Regions from separate parts of the Homo sapiens genome. Here regions 1, 2, 4 and 5 are each linked to region 3. Evidence: promoter capture Hi-C in 16 types of primary human blood cells and fetal thymus (Javierre and others, 2016). All regions are on one chromosome and are shown on one strand. The core of a region is centred on a gene start or on the middle of the fragment in contact, and the rest is flanking DNA. Distances in the headings are between cores, read along the strand shown. Region 1 overlaps RAB14 (RAB14, member RAS oncogene family). Region 2 overlaps C5 (complement C5). Region 3 holds the start of CNTRL (centriolin). Region 4 holds the start of C5-OT1 (C5 3' UTR overlapping transcript 1). Region 5 overlaps CNTRL (centriolin).

The links. The method cuts DNA at HindIII sites, captures the fragments that hold promoters and counts their contacts. A CHiCAGO score of 5 or more calls a contact.
Region 1: a fragment that was not itself captured here is called in contact with the fragment with the promoter of CNTRL in region 3 in 8 of 17 cell types (naive CD8 T cells, naive B cells, naive CD4 T cells and 5 more); the score reaches 9.2 in naive CD8 T cells.
Region 2: a fragment that was not itself captured here is called in contact with the fragment with the promoter of CNTRL in region 3 in 7 of 17 cell types (naive CD4 T cells, total CD4 T cells, activated CD4 T cells and 4 more); the score reaches 7.4 in naive CD4 T cells.
Region 4: a fragment that was not itself captured here is called in contact with the fragment with the promoter of CNTRL in region 3 in 7 of 17 cell types (naive CD4 T cells, total CD4 T cells, activated CD4 T cells and 4 more); the score reaches 9.9 in naive CD4 T cells.
Region 5: a contact is called between a fragment that was not itself captured here and the fragment with the promoter of CNTRL in region 3, in 10 of 17 cell types (megakaryocytes, total B cells, naive CD4 T cells and 7 more). The highest score is 8.7, in megakaryocytes.

Annotation. Positions count from the first base shown.
Region 1 is chr9:121,184,383-121,187,082 of GRCh38, reverse strand. RAB14 (RAB14, member RAS oncogene family) reads left to right here. Exons shown (of 8, transcript NM_016322.4): 5 at 64-130. Among named protein-coding and RNA genes, the nearest start is that of RAB14, 16 kb to the left of the region's middle. The HindIII fragment of the contact is 6,237 bases long and covers 1-2,700 here.
Region 2 is chr9:120,966,447-120,969,146 of GRCh38, reverse strand. C5 (complement C5) reads left to right here. Exons shown (of 41, transcript NM_001735.3): 33 at 29-86. Among named protein-coding and RNA genes, the nearest start is that of C5-OT1, 15 kb to the right of the region's middle. The HindIII fragment of the contact is 5,424 bases long and covers 1-2,700 here.
Region 3 is chr9:121,073,677-121,076,376 of GRCh38, reverse strand. It overlaps CNTRL (centriolin), which reads right to left and starts at 1,422. Exons shown (of 44, transcript NM_007018.6): 1 at 1,310-1,422. It also overlaps a transcript of C5 not described here. RefSeq lists silencers at 1,018-1,157, 1,278-1,337, 1,962-2,158 and an enhancer at 1,458-1,847. The HindIII fragment of the contact is 4,047 bases long and covers 450-2,700 here.
Region 4 is chr9:120,950,293-120,952,992 of GRCh38, reverse strand. It overlaps C5 (complement C5), which reads left to right. Exons shown (of 41, transcript NM_001735.3): 41 at 125-658. The coding sequence ends at 254. C5-OT1 (C5 3' UTR overlapping transcript 1) reads left to right here and starts at 162. Exons shown (of 2, transcript NR_148450.1): 1 at 162-801. The HindIII fragment of the contact is 6,552 bases long and covers 1-2,700 here.
Region 5 is chr9:121,164,560-121,167,259 of GRCh38, reverse strand. CNTRL (centriolin) reads right to left here. Exons shown (of 44, transcript NM_007018.6): 35 at 2,160-2,317; 36 at 1,080-1,153. Among named protein-coding and RNA genes, the nearest start is that of RAB14, 36 kb to the left of the region's middle. The HindIII fragment of the contact is 324 bases long and covers 1,252-1,575 here.

The DNA of each region.
Region 1 (2,700 bases), core at 126-2,625, 110 kb before region 3:
AATATTTAAGTTTTTTTTCTATAATTATATGGCAGTCACAAATTTAAACTTTTATTTTTGCAGAAGAAGTACATATAACCACTTAAGCAGCTGGTTGACAGATGCAAGGAATCTCACCAATCCAAATACTGTAAGTTAAATGGCATCTTATTACACAGAAAATTTAAGAACTAAGCTAACCCAAAAAGGGAAGCCATTTACTGGTGAGATTTTTGTCTTCAGGTACTAAGAATGAGAGAATTTTTATTGTATTCTTCAATTAGTTGAAGAAAACCTAACAGTTATTTTTCAGTTCTTATTAAACCAGGTTTTGCATTTTATTATACCTAGGTTTTTTGTTCATGTTTGTCATTACTATTATGAATGTAGTGGTGATCTCATGTGAAGACTATGAAATCTGAAATTATGATTTTAAAAGGGATCTGCATTAATTTCATAAAACTTTAGCATTGGAGGATACTGGGCAAAACGTAGAAGAGATCTTTCTGTACTGTTTTTTACAACTGCATGTGAATCTGCGTTACCTCAATAAAAATTTCAACTACAGGAGGAGAATTAAGGATAAAAATTTCAGTCAAAAATAAAAAGGATTCTATATGTGTTAAAACATTAGCTTCTTAACCAGACTGAGATGATATTTATTGAGATTTTAAAGGCTAGCCACCATGCTAGACTCTGCAGTATACAAAGATAAACATGGATCCTTGGTCCCAAAGAGCTTATAGTCTAGCAGGGAGAGAACCAGCAGATATGCAGATAACTGTGCTGCAAAGTAGATTGAAGCACGAATTAGAAATAGAGGGACTGGCACAGTGCTGGAGAGCCTAGGATGATCAGTGCCGTCTGGAGAGAAAGCAGCTTTACAGAGGAGTGGTGTTTGAGCTGGTCCTTGAGGGGTGAGTGAAGTTTCAGTAGATATTGTTGAGGGTATGCCAGGAACAATGTGAGGAAAGACACACTGAGCTGTGACTTGAGTTTCTCAGGAACAAGGCTTGTGTCTCACTTGGCTTTATACCCCCAACATTTGGTAGAGGCCTCCTTCAAGAACTGTGTTATCAGTGGTAAGATGAGCTTTTATCAGGAAATGGTGGTTTAATCATATTGAGAGTCAGTTAACATTGTTTGCCTATCATGCTAGGGACTGTGCCTGAAACTTTCATTTCCATTATCGCATTAAACCCAAGGTTTACATACACACCTATAGATGGGTGTTCATAGCAGCTTTATTTCCAGTAGCCCAGAACTGGAAACCTAGGTGTTTCCCAACCTGGCCATTGACAGGTGAATGGTTAAACAGTTCGGAACATCTCTATAGTGGAGTACTACTAAGCCGTACGTAGGAATGAATTCTTTATATATGCAGCAGTTGAGCTGGTTCTCAAGGGCATCATACCCAGTAAAAAAGCCAATCTCAAAAGTTTACATACTGTATGATTTCATTTAGAAAACATTCTCAAAATGACAAAATTGTAGAGATGGGGAGTAGATTAGTGATTGCCAGGGATTAGCAAAGGGGGTGGAGGGTGGTAGTGGTGTGATGACATAGAGGGCAGCACAGAAGCAGTTTCTTTGTAGTGATAGAACAGTTCTGTATCCTGATAGTGATGATGGAGATCTGCACCTGAGATAAAATTACATAGAACCACCCATGCACGAACGCACATGTGCCTGAGAATGTGTAAAAACTGAAATCTGAATAAGGGCTGCAGATTGTACCAATGTCAGTTTCCTGGTTTTGAGAGTGTATTATAGTTACATAACATCCTACCATTAGGGAAGTTTGGTGAAGGGTACACAGGACCTCACTGTTATTTTTTGTAAGTCTCTGTGACTCTATAGCTATTTCAAGTAAAATATTAAAAACAAAACTCATTGTAGAGGGCCCGTGGAGGAGTATAATAAAATTAACCTTACCGCCCTGTGTCCTTCCTGCCTCATTTATGTGCTTTGAAATAGAACCAGATCAGGAGAAAAAAAATTTCTTGAGTTTTTCTTAAGTGCTCCATTTTCTATAGAATTGCCCTTGATTTCTGTGTAGAAGTTGTGTTCTCTACCATTTTGTTGTGGGCATGTTTTGTATCTCTGTAATTAGCATGCCACTTTATGTCTTCCCTTTCAGGGAGATAAGAAGCCTTATTTGGAGATTCATAGGGAATCAGGAGCAGGGCAGTATTTCTTGTTTTGAGTACCTATCTTGTAATGGCCCTATGCTAGTCATTGTGGCTTTACCAGACTTGATTTTTTATAAATTGATTTCCTTTTTAAGTATCATTATTTTATTCTTTTAAAATACTAATGGATAGTATATGAAAGTTTCTTCCCCTTCACAGTGGGCACTTTGTCCACACTGTTTAAAGAATGCTCACTTTTGTTGTACTACTTAACTGTCCTTGCATGAGGTTTACATTCAGATAAAAATGATTATTTGGTTTATGGACACACATTTTTGAAAGTGGAAGAGCCAGGAGCTGTAATTTTACATGAAAAAAAGTTAATGGCTGAAGTGCCTTTTAGTTGAAACCATCCATTCCTAAAGTGTTCATATCTAGATTACCATATCTGTTTGGAAGGGGGAAAAAGGGAAGGATTTTACCAGTTGGTGTCAAATAAGCTCATAAATGTACAAAGACAGTTTATCCATAACCCCCCTCCCCACCCCAGGTAAAGGCCAAAGCCCTTTGCTGTTTCCCAAGGGTACAT
Region 2 (2,700 bases), core at 128-2,627, 110 kb after region 3:
CTGTTTGTTTTCTTGTCTTATGTGCCAGCATCCCACTACAGAGGCTACGGAAACTCTGATTACAAACGCATAGTAGCATGTGCCAGGTGAGCCTATTTCCACAAAGGGGAGCATAGACTCCAAGTTCTCATTTTTGTTAACGTATTGTTTCTTTACATATTTTCAAATTTTGGTATGTCCAGAAGATACAAAATTGTTCAATTGTTTAAAAATGCAGAACATATATATTCTTAAATTGCTACTTACCATAAAAAACAGCCTTGGTTTTGCTCATAATAGTTTTCTCTGTCTGTTTTGTCTTCTGATTCAAACAGTGTAATATTAATTTTTTCTCTTTCAGAGGGATAGAAATGTGATTTAAAAAATTAGGAAAAAAATATAAAAGATTCTCTCAAAAACAGCCCCTACTCTCTTACTTAGAAAAATCACATTTACCTAACAAAATCCATTATCAGCTAGATTCTCAACTCAAGCTGCACATTGAAGTCAGCTGGAGAGCTCTTAGAGCTGTCCAAATGTCCCGGGCTCCAGAGGTCATTCTAATGGTAGCCAGGGTTGAGAACCACTGATGTTAAACCCTCTCCCAACTAAATACCGAGGCCTCAATTGGCCACTGTATTAGTTTCCTGTTATTGCTAGGTAACAATTTATTGCAAATGTAATGGTTTAAACCAACACAGTTTTACTATCTTGCAATTCTAGAGGTGAGAAGTCCCAAAATCAAGGAGCTGGGTAGGGCTGTATTCCTTCTGGAAGCTCTAGAATTTCTTTGCCTATTCCAGATTCTAGAGGCTACCTGTGTTCTTTGGCTTGTGGCCCCTCTCTGTCTTCAATACCAGTGTCACAGCATCTTCCAATCTGACTGTGACCTCTGCTTCCATCATCACACCTCCTTCTCTGACTCTCCTGCTTCCTTTCCTCATAAAGATTCTTGTCTTTACATTAGGCCTGCACAAATAACCCCCTATCTCAAATCCTTAATTTAATCACATCTGTAAAGTTCTCTTTGCCACATAAGGTAACATATTCACAGGTTCAGGGGATTAGGACATGGACACCCTTGGGGGCCATTATTCTGCTTACCACAGCCACCATCCTAAAACATTTATGAAAGTGTAGGTTTTTTGCCGGGTACAGTGGCTCATACTGTAATCCCAACACTTTGGGAGGCCAAGGAGAGAGAATTGCTTGAGCCCAGGAGTTCAAGAACAGCCTGGGCACCATAGCCAGACCCCATCTCTACAGCAAATTTTAAAAATTAGCCAGACATGGTGGCACACACTTGTAGTCCCAGCTACTCAGGAGGCTGAGGCAGGAGGATTGCTTGAGCCCAGGAGGTTGAGGCTGCAGTGAGCTGTGACCACGCCACTGCACTCCAACCTGGACGAAAAATTGAGACCTTGTCTCCAAATAAAAAAAAAAAGAAAAAGAAAAGAATATGTAGGTATTTGAAAATATGTATATACTTTTGGCTTTGGTGATCACACAGTGTGATCAGAGAGTGGTAGAGCCAGGACTGAAACACAGACTTCTTCCCTGTTCTTTCCATCGTCCCTCAGTCCTTTCTATTGTGTTCTATTTTCTTAACTCTTGTATTGTCAATAACAGTGATATCTGTGGATGGCATTTTGCTGATTTTACTTATAATCATGCACCCAGTGTGGATAACTTGGAAATTCAATAGTGTTGTGCAAAAGATGAGAGCTGAGAAGGACCTTAGGGATGATATCATAATCCTCTTGTTTTGGAAATGAAGAAACTAAGACCCAAAGAGATAAAGTCGCCTGCCAAATGCTCACAGAGTTAGAGGCAGAGCTAGGGGCTCAAATCCCCAACCTCTGATGTTCAATCCAGTATCTAAACCACATCTTTTTTTTTTTTTTTTTTGAGATGGAGTTTCACTCTGTCTCCCAGGCTGGAGTGCAGTGGCGTGATCTCGGCTCACTACAACCTCCACCTCCCAGGTTCAGGTGATTCTCCTTCCTCAGCCTCCCGAGTAGCTGGGATTACAGGCACATGCCACCATGCCTGGCTAATTTTTTTATTTTTAGTAGAGATGGGGTTTCAGCATGTTGGCCAGGCTGGTCTTGAACTCCTAACCTCAGCTGGTCTGCCCACCTTAGCCTCCCAAAGTGCTGGGATTACAAGCCTGAGCCACCACGCTCAGCCTAAACCACCTCTTTCAATCAGTGTAATCTAAGACCACTAATCCCAAGGAACAGCACATAGTTTCTCCCTGCCTCCCTCCCAGCTGTTTCCCAGTCTTCTCTATGTCCCAAGCCCAATCGCTTCTTAGGATTCCTTCACTATTCAGCCCTATTTCCTTCCTCATCAGCATTTCTTCCTTCCAGCATTTCCTACTTCCTTCTGTGGCCAGTCCCTGCTCTCTGTTCCCGCTCAAACATCTTTCCTCATTCCCTAATGTCTTTCCAGTAAGGTCGCCCTTTCCCAGGCAGCTTCTTTCCCCCTAAATGCCATTCCTACCCTTGGGCACCTACCAGCTGGGGAGGAGCATGATCACAATTACCTTTAAATTTGTAACAGTTGTCAAAGGGAAGTGTAAGCAAACTTCTGGGCAGAGCTCGAATCAGTGCCTGGGACCCTACAGGGAGGCATCTAGACTTGCAATAAAGAAGAGCTCTCTGATAGGGTGAGACACCTGTGGGATAGCCTCTACCAGTAAGAACTCCAGTGACCTTC
Region 3 (2,700 bases), core at 173-2,672:
TCCTATTAAAAGCCTGAATCCCCTCTCCCATCTCTCTTCTTCTGCTCAGATACCCTAAAACTCAAGCTTCCCATCTCTTTCCATTAATTATTCAATTTTATTGAGCAACTTTTATGTAGGAAGAACCATGCTAGAATCTAAGCTCAAGATGCAGAAGATTTTATCTCCCTATTACCCATGATCTCTGCACCAAGCAGTCTCCTTCATAGCATTTTATAACCATTATTTGTGAAACTACTTGGTTGTTGCCTGTTTCTCCTTCTAGACTATAAGCTACAAGAGAGCAGAGGTTTTGTCTGTTGTTCTATAAACAATAAATATTTGTTGACTGAAGGACTGTACTAAACACTTAGACAATACCAAATTTAAATCCTCAAAGATTTAGCTGTATAGGATCAGAATTATTAACCTGATTTACAAATGGCAATGTACCTGAACAGTTAAAAGCTTGGATTCTGGAACGAAACAGCCTGAGTTCAAATTCTGATTTTCCACTTACTGTGTGATCTTAGGCAAATTACTTAACCTCTCTGGTCCTCAGTGCTATCACTTTTTAAATGGGGATGATAACCTCATACAAGTTATTTTAAATTCTAAATGAGGTTAATACGTGCAAAGTGCTTAAAACTGGATCTGACAAATAGTGAACACCCAAAAATGATTCGCAATTATTTGGACAAATGAGGAAACATGATCAGGAAGGCTCAGACACATATCCAGGGTCACAGACCTGGTTAAGTTACACAAGGTGGCAGAATTGAGGCTTCAACCCAAGTTTGTCTGGCTTCAAAATTCTCTAGTCCCTTAACGAATATAACGGAAGTGTTTGTTCTTCCCCTTCTTTTAGCATTTCGTCCCCATATCCTGTCATCTTTCTCCACGCACTGTACTCCGTCCGATACCGTGACAACCCGTCAGGACGCCCAAACTGTCCTTTCTCCCGCTCACTCCCCACAGACAGCTGGCACATCCCAGCTCTCCCCTCAGCTCAGGTGGCAGGACCCACAACCTTCTGGGCGCCGCACCCTAACTTCCACACCTCCCCACACTCTGGTTCTTCATCCCCAATCGCCCCCGCCGTCCCCACCTCTTCCCATCCAAACCTCCCTCCTTCATCCACCGCCCCACGCCCGTTCCGGGCCCTCCCCTCTTTCCCGTCCAATCCCAATTCCCAGACACGCGCCCCCGCCCCGAATCCATCCCAAGCCGGCCCACACCACGCCCGGTCCGGGCCTTCCCGCCTTTGCCGCCGGCCCCCACTGCTCGGGCCGGATGCCGGGGAACGGGCTCGGCCAGGTCTGACGCTCACCGCCTAGAAGCCGAGCCGAGCAGTCCCGCAGGCTGAGGTAGAGCGGGAGAAGTTCGGGCTCTTTCCTCAGGGGCCCAGCGGCGCGGCAGCCATTTTGTTGTGTTGTGCCGGTTGCCGAGGGGCCGCGCGCGCGTGGTCGGGGCTAGTCTCAGCCACGCCCCTCTCCCTCTCCGGTACTGTTGGAAGGGACGCGGAGGCGTTTCCCGCCTCTTTTGCAGCCAGCGCGCTAGGATGCCGGGGAGTCTTGGGCGCGAGGCTTCCGGCCGCGCGGGGCCGACGGGATGCGGTGCCTTCGCCTTCGGATTGCGTTGCAGGTGAAGTGTCGGGTGCAGAGTCAGGGGGAGCCGAGGTTTCATGCGGCAGCTGCCCGCAGTGCTGTGGCCTTCGCTGAGACAAAGCTGCCGCCGCCACCCTCTGAAACACGGACACGCTTCTCAGGGCCTGTGTCCGAGGACGGCCTGAGGCACCGGCGCAGCGCCTCCCCGGCCTCCCCCACTTCTGATGCTTGCGCGCTATGAGCGAGTGTTCTTATCAGCACACTTCTCTCTGACAGTCGTATCTAAAGCGAATTCCCTCCAGGGACCGAACTGCCCAGGCTCGGATGAACCTCAAAGCGGACGCAGCCTGGGCTCCAGCTGTCGCGTGAGGTTCAGGGAGCTTGGGAATCCTAGGCAGAGGATGTTCCTCTGATTGCTACAAGGGAGTTAAAGCAAGAAGCACTTGCACAGGCTTCATCTGGGGCTTGCCCATGAGCACGGCGTTCACGACATGCATTCAACAGATATTTTAAAGAATTTAGCAGATACTGGGCTGGATGCTAGGGAAACACTGAAGTTTTTTTTAAAGTGTTATCACCATTGACGCCTTTCACTCCAGTAGCCTCCCGTTTTGAAGGTATACCCTGGACCATGTTACCATCAGAGGCTGCACCCGCTCCAGAAATCCCCAGTGCAATCGCTCCCCATCCTTGACTATAATCCTATCATCTTAGCAGCGTGCCTGCTCAAAAGACCCCTATGCCAGCGTATTTCTAAACTTCCTTGCGTCTTCCAGTCCCTTGTTCTTACCATTTTCTCGCGATCATTCTATCCTGTCTTCATTTCCTTTCTTCACTACAGAGTTTATAGGCCACCTGTATAACACTTTTAGAAACTCCCTCTCTCTCTGTGTCTCAGTTTCCTTATCTATGAAATGAGGTCCTTTTACCTATTAACACTTCCTACAGTTTTCCTGATAATTATAAAAGTGAATCCTGGCCGGGCGCTGTGGCTCATGCCTGTAATCCCAGCACTTTGGGAGACCAAGGTGGGAGGATCACTTGAGGTCAGGAATTCAAGATCAGCCTGGCCAACAAGGTGAAACGCCGTCTCTACTAAAAATACAAAAATTAC
Region 4 (2,700 bases), core at 52-2,551, 120 kb after region 3:
GAGATCACGCCACTGCACTCCAGCATGGGCGACTGAGCAAGACTCCGTCTCAAAAAAAAATAAAGAAATCAAATTCAGCTTTTCTGTTTTGTGGCCACCTCACAAACACTTTGTTTCTTGGTAGGTACATCTACCCTTTAGATTCCTTGACCTGGATTGAATACTGGCCTAGAGACACAACATGTTCATCGTGTCAAGCATTTTTAGCTAATTTAGATGAATTTGCCGAAGATATCTTTTTAAATGGATGCTAAAATTCCTGAAGTTCAGCTGCATACAGTTTGCACTTATGGACTCCTGTTGTTGAAGTTCGTTTTTTTGTTTTCTTCTTTTTTTAAACATTCATAGCTGGTCTTATTTGTAAAGCTCACTTTACTTAGAATTAGTGGCACTTGCTTTTATTAGAGAATGATTTCAAATGCTGTAACTTTCTGAAATAACATGGCCTTGGAGGGCATGAAGACAGATACTCCTCCAAGGTTATTGGACACCGGAAACAATAAATTGGAACACCTCCTCAAACCTACCACTCAGGAATGTTTGCTGGGGCCGAAAGAACAGTCCATTGAAAGGGAGTATTACAAAAACATGGCCTTTGCTTGAAAGAAAATACCAAGGAACAGGAAACTGATCATTAAAGCCTGAGTTTGCTTTCAAACTGTGCTAAAAAGCCTGTTATTTTATGCTAGATCAGCTTCAACCACACAAAGACAGGCAAATTGAGAGAGATGGAGAAAGTCAGCAGTAGAGAACCTTAACCTTGAGCGGGCTTAGCCTCAGAGCCCTCAGCGCACTGAGAAGGTAGGTGGGTTTGTCCCTGCCCCCTCCCCGTCCATTGCCCTCTCCATACCCCTGAAGGGAGACCCTCTACTCTCTTTCCCTCCCTTCCGGCACATGTTCATTTCCCCCAGGAACCTGCTCTCGCCAACAATTGCTTTACTAAAAGACAGGCCCCAGTGCAGCAACCTGGTGAAAAGAAACTGAGTGGCGGATCGGGAGACCTTTCTCCAGCCCTAACCAGGTCTCTCTCTGAGCCTCAATTTGAGCTTTATAAAAGAGGATACATAACAGAAGTTAATTTTTAAGTGACATTTTGCAGCACTTCAGATCATATTAAAAAGCTCTCGCATATATTCTCATTTAATGTCTCAAGCCTCTCACAAGATTCAGAAATTATTATCATTATCATCCCCATCTTACAGATAAGAAAATTGAGATTTAGGCCTGGCATGGTGGCTCAAGCCTGTAATCCCAGCACTTTGGGAGGCCAAGGCGGGCAGATCACTTGAGGTCAGGAGTTCGAGACCAGCCTGGCCAACATAGTGAAACCCCATCTCTACTAAAAATATAAAAATTAGCCAGGCTAATTTAGCAAGCCTGTAATCCCAGGTACTCAGTAGGCTGAGGCAGGAGGATCACTTGAACCCAGGAAGTGGACGTTGCAGTGAGCCGAGATCATGCCACTGCATTCCAGCCTAGGTGACAGAGTGAGACTCCATCTCAAAAAAGAAAAAAGAAAAAGAAAAGAAAATTGAGGTTCAGAAAAGTAAAGCAGTTTTCCCAACCTAGTAAGGAAAAGAATTGGAAATCAAACCCCAAGACTCTATCTCAGTTTAAATACATCTCTGTTCCACATCACTACATATTGCTTGTTGGGTTGAATTTTCTAACAGTAAGGCAGGATATAGTAGAAGTTTCTTAGACACAGATTAACCAGCCCCACTGAACTATCACAGGAAACATGAAGATGACCTCCGGATGTAACGGTAATTAACAGAGACTGGAATGCATCTCCTTTTGAAGAGTCTGCTTTTTACTAGTTAGGTGAAGCTACACAAGGCCTTGTAGTGTGCCTTTGTAAATAACACTAAGATTTTCCACTTCCAGGGACTAAGGACTTATTTTTCTCTAATGTCAAAGCTCACATTGTAGGCACTCCCTTGGCAAAAACAACCAATGTGTCATGTTCAAGATGCCCACACTCCCTGTCAGCGAGGGGTGAGGAGACCTTCTCCAGAGCAGGCCTCTCGGTGTCTCCTGTCACTTCCTTGCTGGGAGGAGGGAACCACTGGTGCTGCTTCGAAGGCACAGGAGTCTGACTGCCTTTTCCTGAGCACTTTGGCAAATAGGGCAGGCCACAGTGGCCTAATTAACCCACAATGCAGCTGTCAAATATCAAAGAAGGTTTTGTGAATTAGCCTGGCACCATTTAAAATATCTGCCAGCTCCTCTTCAGCTAACTCCTATGCATTTGAACATATTTTCTCAGTGAGGCTTTTGTGACCCTCCAAACCAGGCTGGGCCCATTACCCAACCCTGCACTTCTCCTCCAAGGCACTTGTGCTCTTGCAATGATTTACTTAATCAGATTGAATTATTAGTTTAGCGTGACCACACTGAAAGCTCCACTTAGGTAAGGTCTGAGTCTGTTCTATTCGCCAGTATCTCCTGTAGTTGGCACAATGTCGGGCACATCATAGGGACTCAATAAGTGTTTGTGGATTCCCCTACAGTGTAGAGAATCAGAAGACCCAAGTTCTAGTCTTGGCTTTGGCCCTAATTGGCAGTGATTTGGGACAAGCCTCTTAATCTCTTTGATAGCCTATAAAATAAGGGAATTGGACACTCTAATGTCTCTTTTATCTATAGCTAAGAAGATGTTCTATAATCTTATGATGTGAAACAGGAAAAACCAAACGG
Region 5 (2,700 bases), core at 164-2,663, 91 kb before region 3:
GGCTCACTGCAACCTCTGCCTCCCAGGTTCAAGCAATCCTCCCGTCTCAGCCTCTCGAGTAGCTGGGACTACAGGCACATGCCACCATACCCAGCTAATTTTTTGTCTTTTTCGTAGAGACGGGGTTTCACCATGTTGGCCAGGCTGATCTCGAACTCCTGGGCTCAAGTGATCCACCTGCCTTGGCCTCCCAAAGTGCTGGGATGGCCTGTGTCTAATGTTAACTTTTTTTTTTTTTGAGACAGAGCTTCACTCTTGTTGCCCAGGCTGGAGTACAATGGTGCAATCTCAGCTCACGGCAACCTCCGCCTCTCGGGTTCAAGCGATTCTCCTGCCTCAGCCTCCCGAGTAGCTGGGATTACAGGCATGTGCCACCACGCCTGGCTAATTTTGTATTTTTAGTAGAGATGGGGTTTCTCCATGTTGGTCAGGCTGGTCTTGAACTCCCGACTTCAGGTGATCTGCCCGCCTTGGCCTCCCAAAGTGCTGGGATTACAGGTGTGAGCCACTGCACCTGGCATAACTCTTAATTTACATAATAGAAACTGAAGTCTAGAACTTGTTTGAAGTGCTTTGAATTACAGCACTAGTCTCACAGGACAACACTGAATTACCTTTAAGAAAATCATTAGAAGTATGAGGGTCAAAAATCTGCTATATTCAATATCTGACAAGATAGAGGCCCAGATTTGGCGGGTACTCTATGGCTCAAGGAGTAATCAAATCTAAGCCCAGCCTTTAGAGGCCTCATCTGTGTCATGGATGAGAGATGGCCCATCTGGTCCCTGAAACCCCAAGAAGGGCTGCTGAGAGACTGCTGCTGGGCTCTGGTCTAGCCACCACCCTACTTACTAGCTTTGAGTAAAACTGTTTGTATCAAGAGTTCTAAGGCTAAAATAAATTAGCAAACCACTGCTCTCCATCAAAACTTTTATTTATGTGATGGTTATGTTACATAAATGGCCCTACGGTATCTGCTGTTGTGAAGAGGAACCAGCCTACTTGATTTCTTTGTTATTTAAACCAATGGTCTGCATACCCTCAGTATACTACTAGAATATTACATTTGTTAACCTTACCTGTTTTGCTAGGTTCAAATGGTCTTGGACATTAGCTAGTTCCTCCTGCAGTGAGTTTACTGCTTCTCGTTTTTCTAAAGAAATGACATTCTCATGAAATAAGAAATACATACGTATTTACTGTACAGATTCCCATTAGCATTCCCAAAAAGTAGAGAAGTTGTTTTAAGCTTACTCCTGTTACATGTATGACTATGCCACACTATCTCATTAAAGGCCAAAAGAGAGTTACATGCACAATCCAGATTTGGGCTTGGAGCTCAGGTTTTTAAAGATTTTCATGTTCAAAATCTCACAACGAAAAAATTACAGATAATACTTAATGTTAGGTGTTTAAAAACAGCTACCTTCTGCATTGCTGGTAGAAATAGAAACTTAACCTTTCAGGAAGGCAATTTGGGAATAAATTTTTTATCTATATTGGCTTTGTCAATTACTAGCTGTGTGACCTCTAGCAAGTCACTTCTCATTTAAGCAGTCACAAGAAAACTAAGCTTCAGTTTCCTTATTTACAAATGAGTAAAATAATTTTTATCTCATAAAAATGTTATGAGGATTAAGTGAGAAAATGAAATACCAAGGATATAAAAAATGTTCAACAAGTATATTATTAGCTAGAATTACTCAGCAATTTCTTCTAAATAAATTATCATATTTATAAACATTTGGTAATTTTAAAATCTTCATTATTTACATCTTTGTTTTTGTTTTTCAAACTAGACACACCCCTAGGAAAAATCTGGAAGGATATTCACCAAACTGTTACTAGGAATCTATGAGGAGTGAGGTCAACAGCAATTTTTATTTCTTTTTGCTGTTTTAAAATTGTTCTCTAAGGAACATGAATTAGGTTTTTTTTTTTAACTGACTTTATTGAGATAAAATTCACATATCATGTCCTATTTAAAGTGTACAATTCAAAGGCTTTTAGTATATTCCAAGTTGTGCAAACATTACCACAATCTAATTTTAGAAAGAAACACCATGCTCATTAGCAGGAATTACTTGTCGTAAGAAAAATCAAAGAATCTAACGAAGGGCAAGGAAATCACACACTTTCACTGTTTTGCTGCCTTATACCTTGGAGCTGCTGTTGCATTGCTGAAATGTCGTTATGCAGTGACAACTTGTCTCTGTTTAGTTGGTCTAGTTCCTGCTGCAGTTTTCTGACATTCAATTCCAACTTTTCTAAGTTTGATTGCTCCATTTTGCTATTTTCTTCTGCTGCTGCTAAAACCCTACCACAGAGAGTAAGTCAGACTGTCAAATATACAAGCACACACAGGAGATGACTGAGGAACAGTGTTATCCTTTCACAACATACAGTTATGGAAAGTATAAATGATTATAAATCTTCACAAAATTTAAGACTCAACTCATTTTCAGAATCTTATTATCAGCTTTCTAAGTGGAGACTTTTTTCAAAAACTGACTCACTAAATTGAAGTTTTATAAAAATCATGGATTAAAAACATGGATAACATTCAGAATTCCAAAAATCTGATAAAAATGGAGCTGTGACAATCGAAAGAGTAGAAAACAATTGTGTGTACAGTAGGATCTGTCCATATAGCAGACATGCATGAGCATGTATTGTAGTACATAAAGGGAGTCATACAGT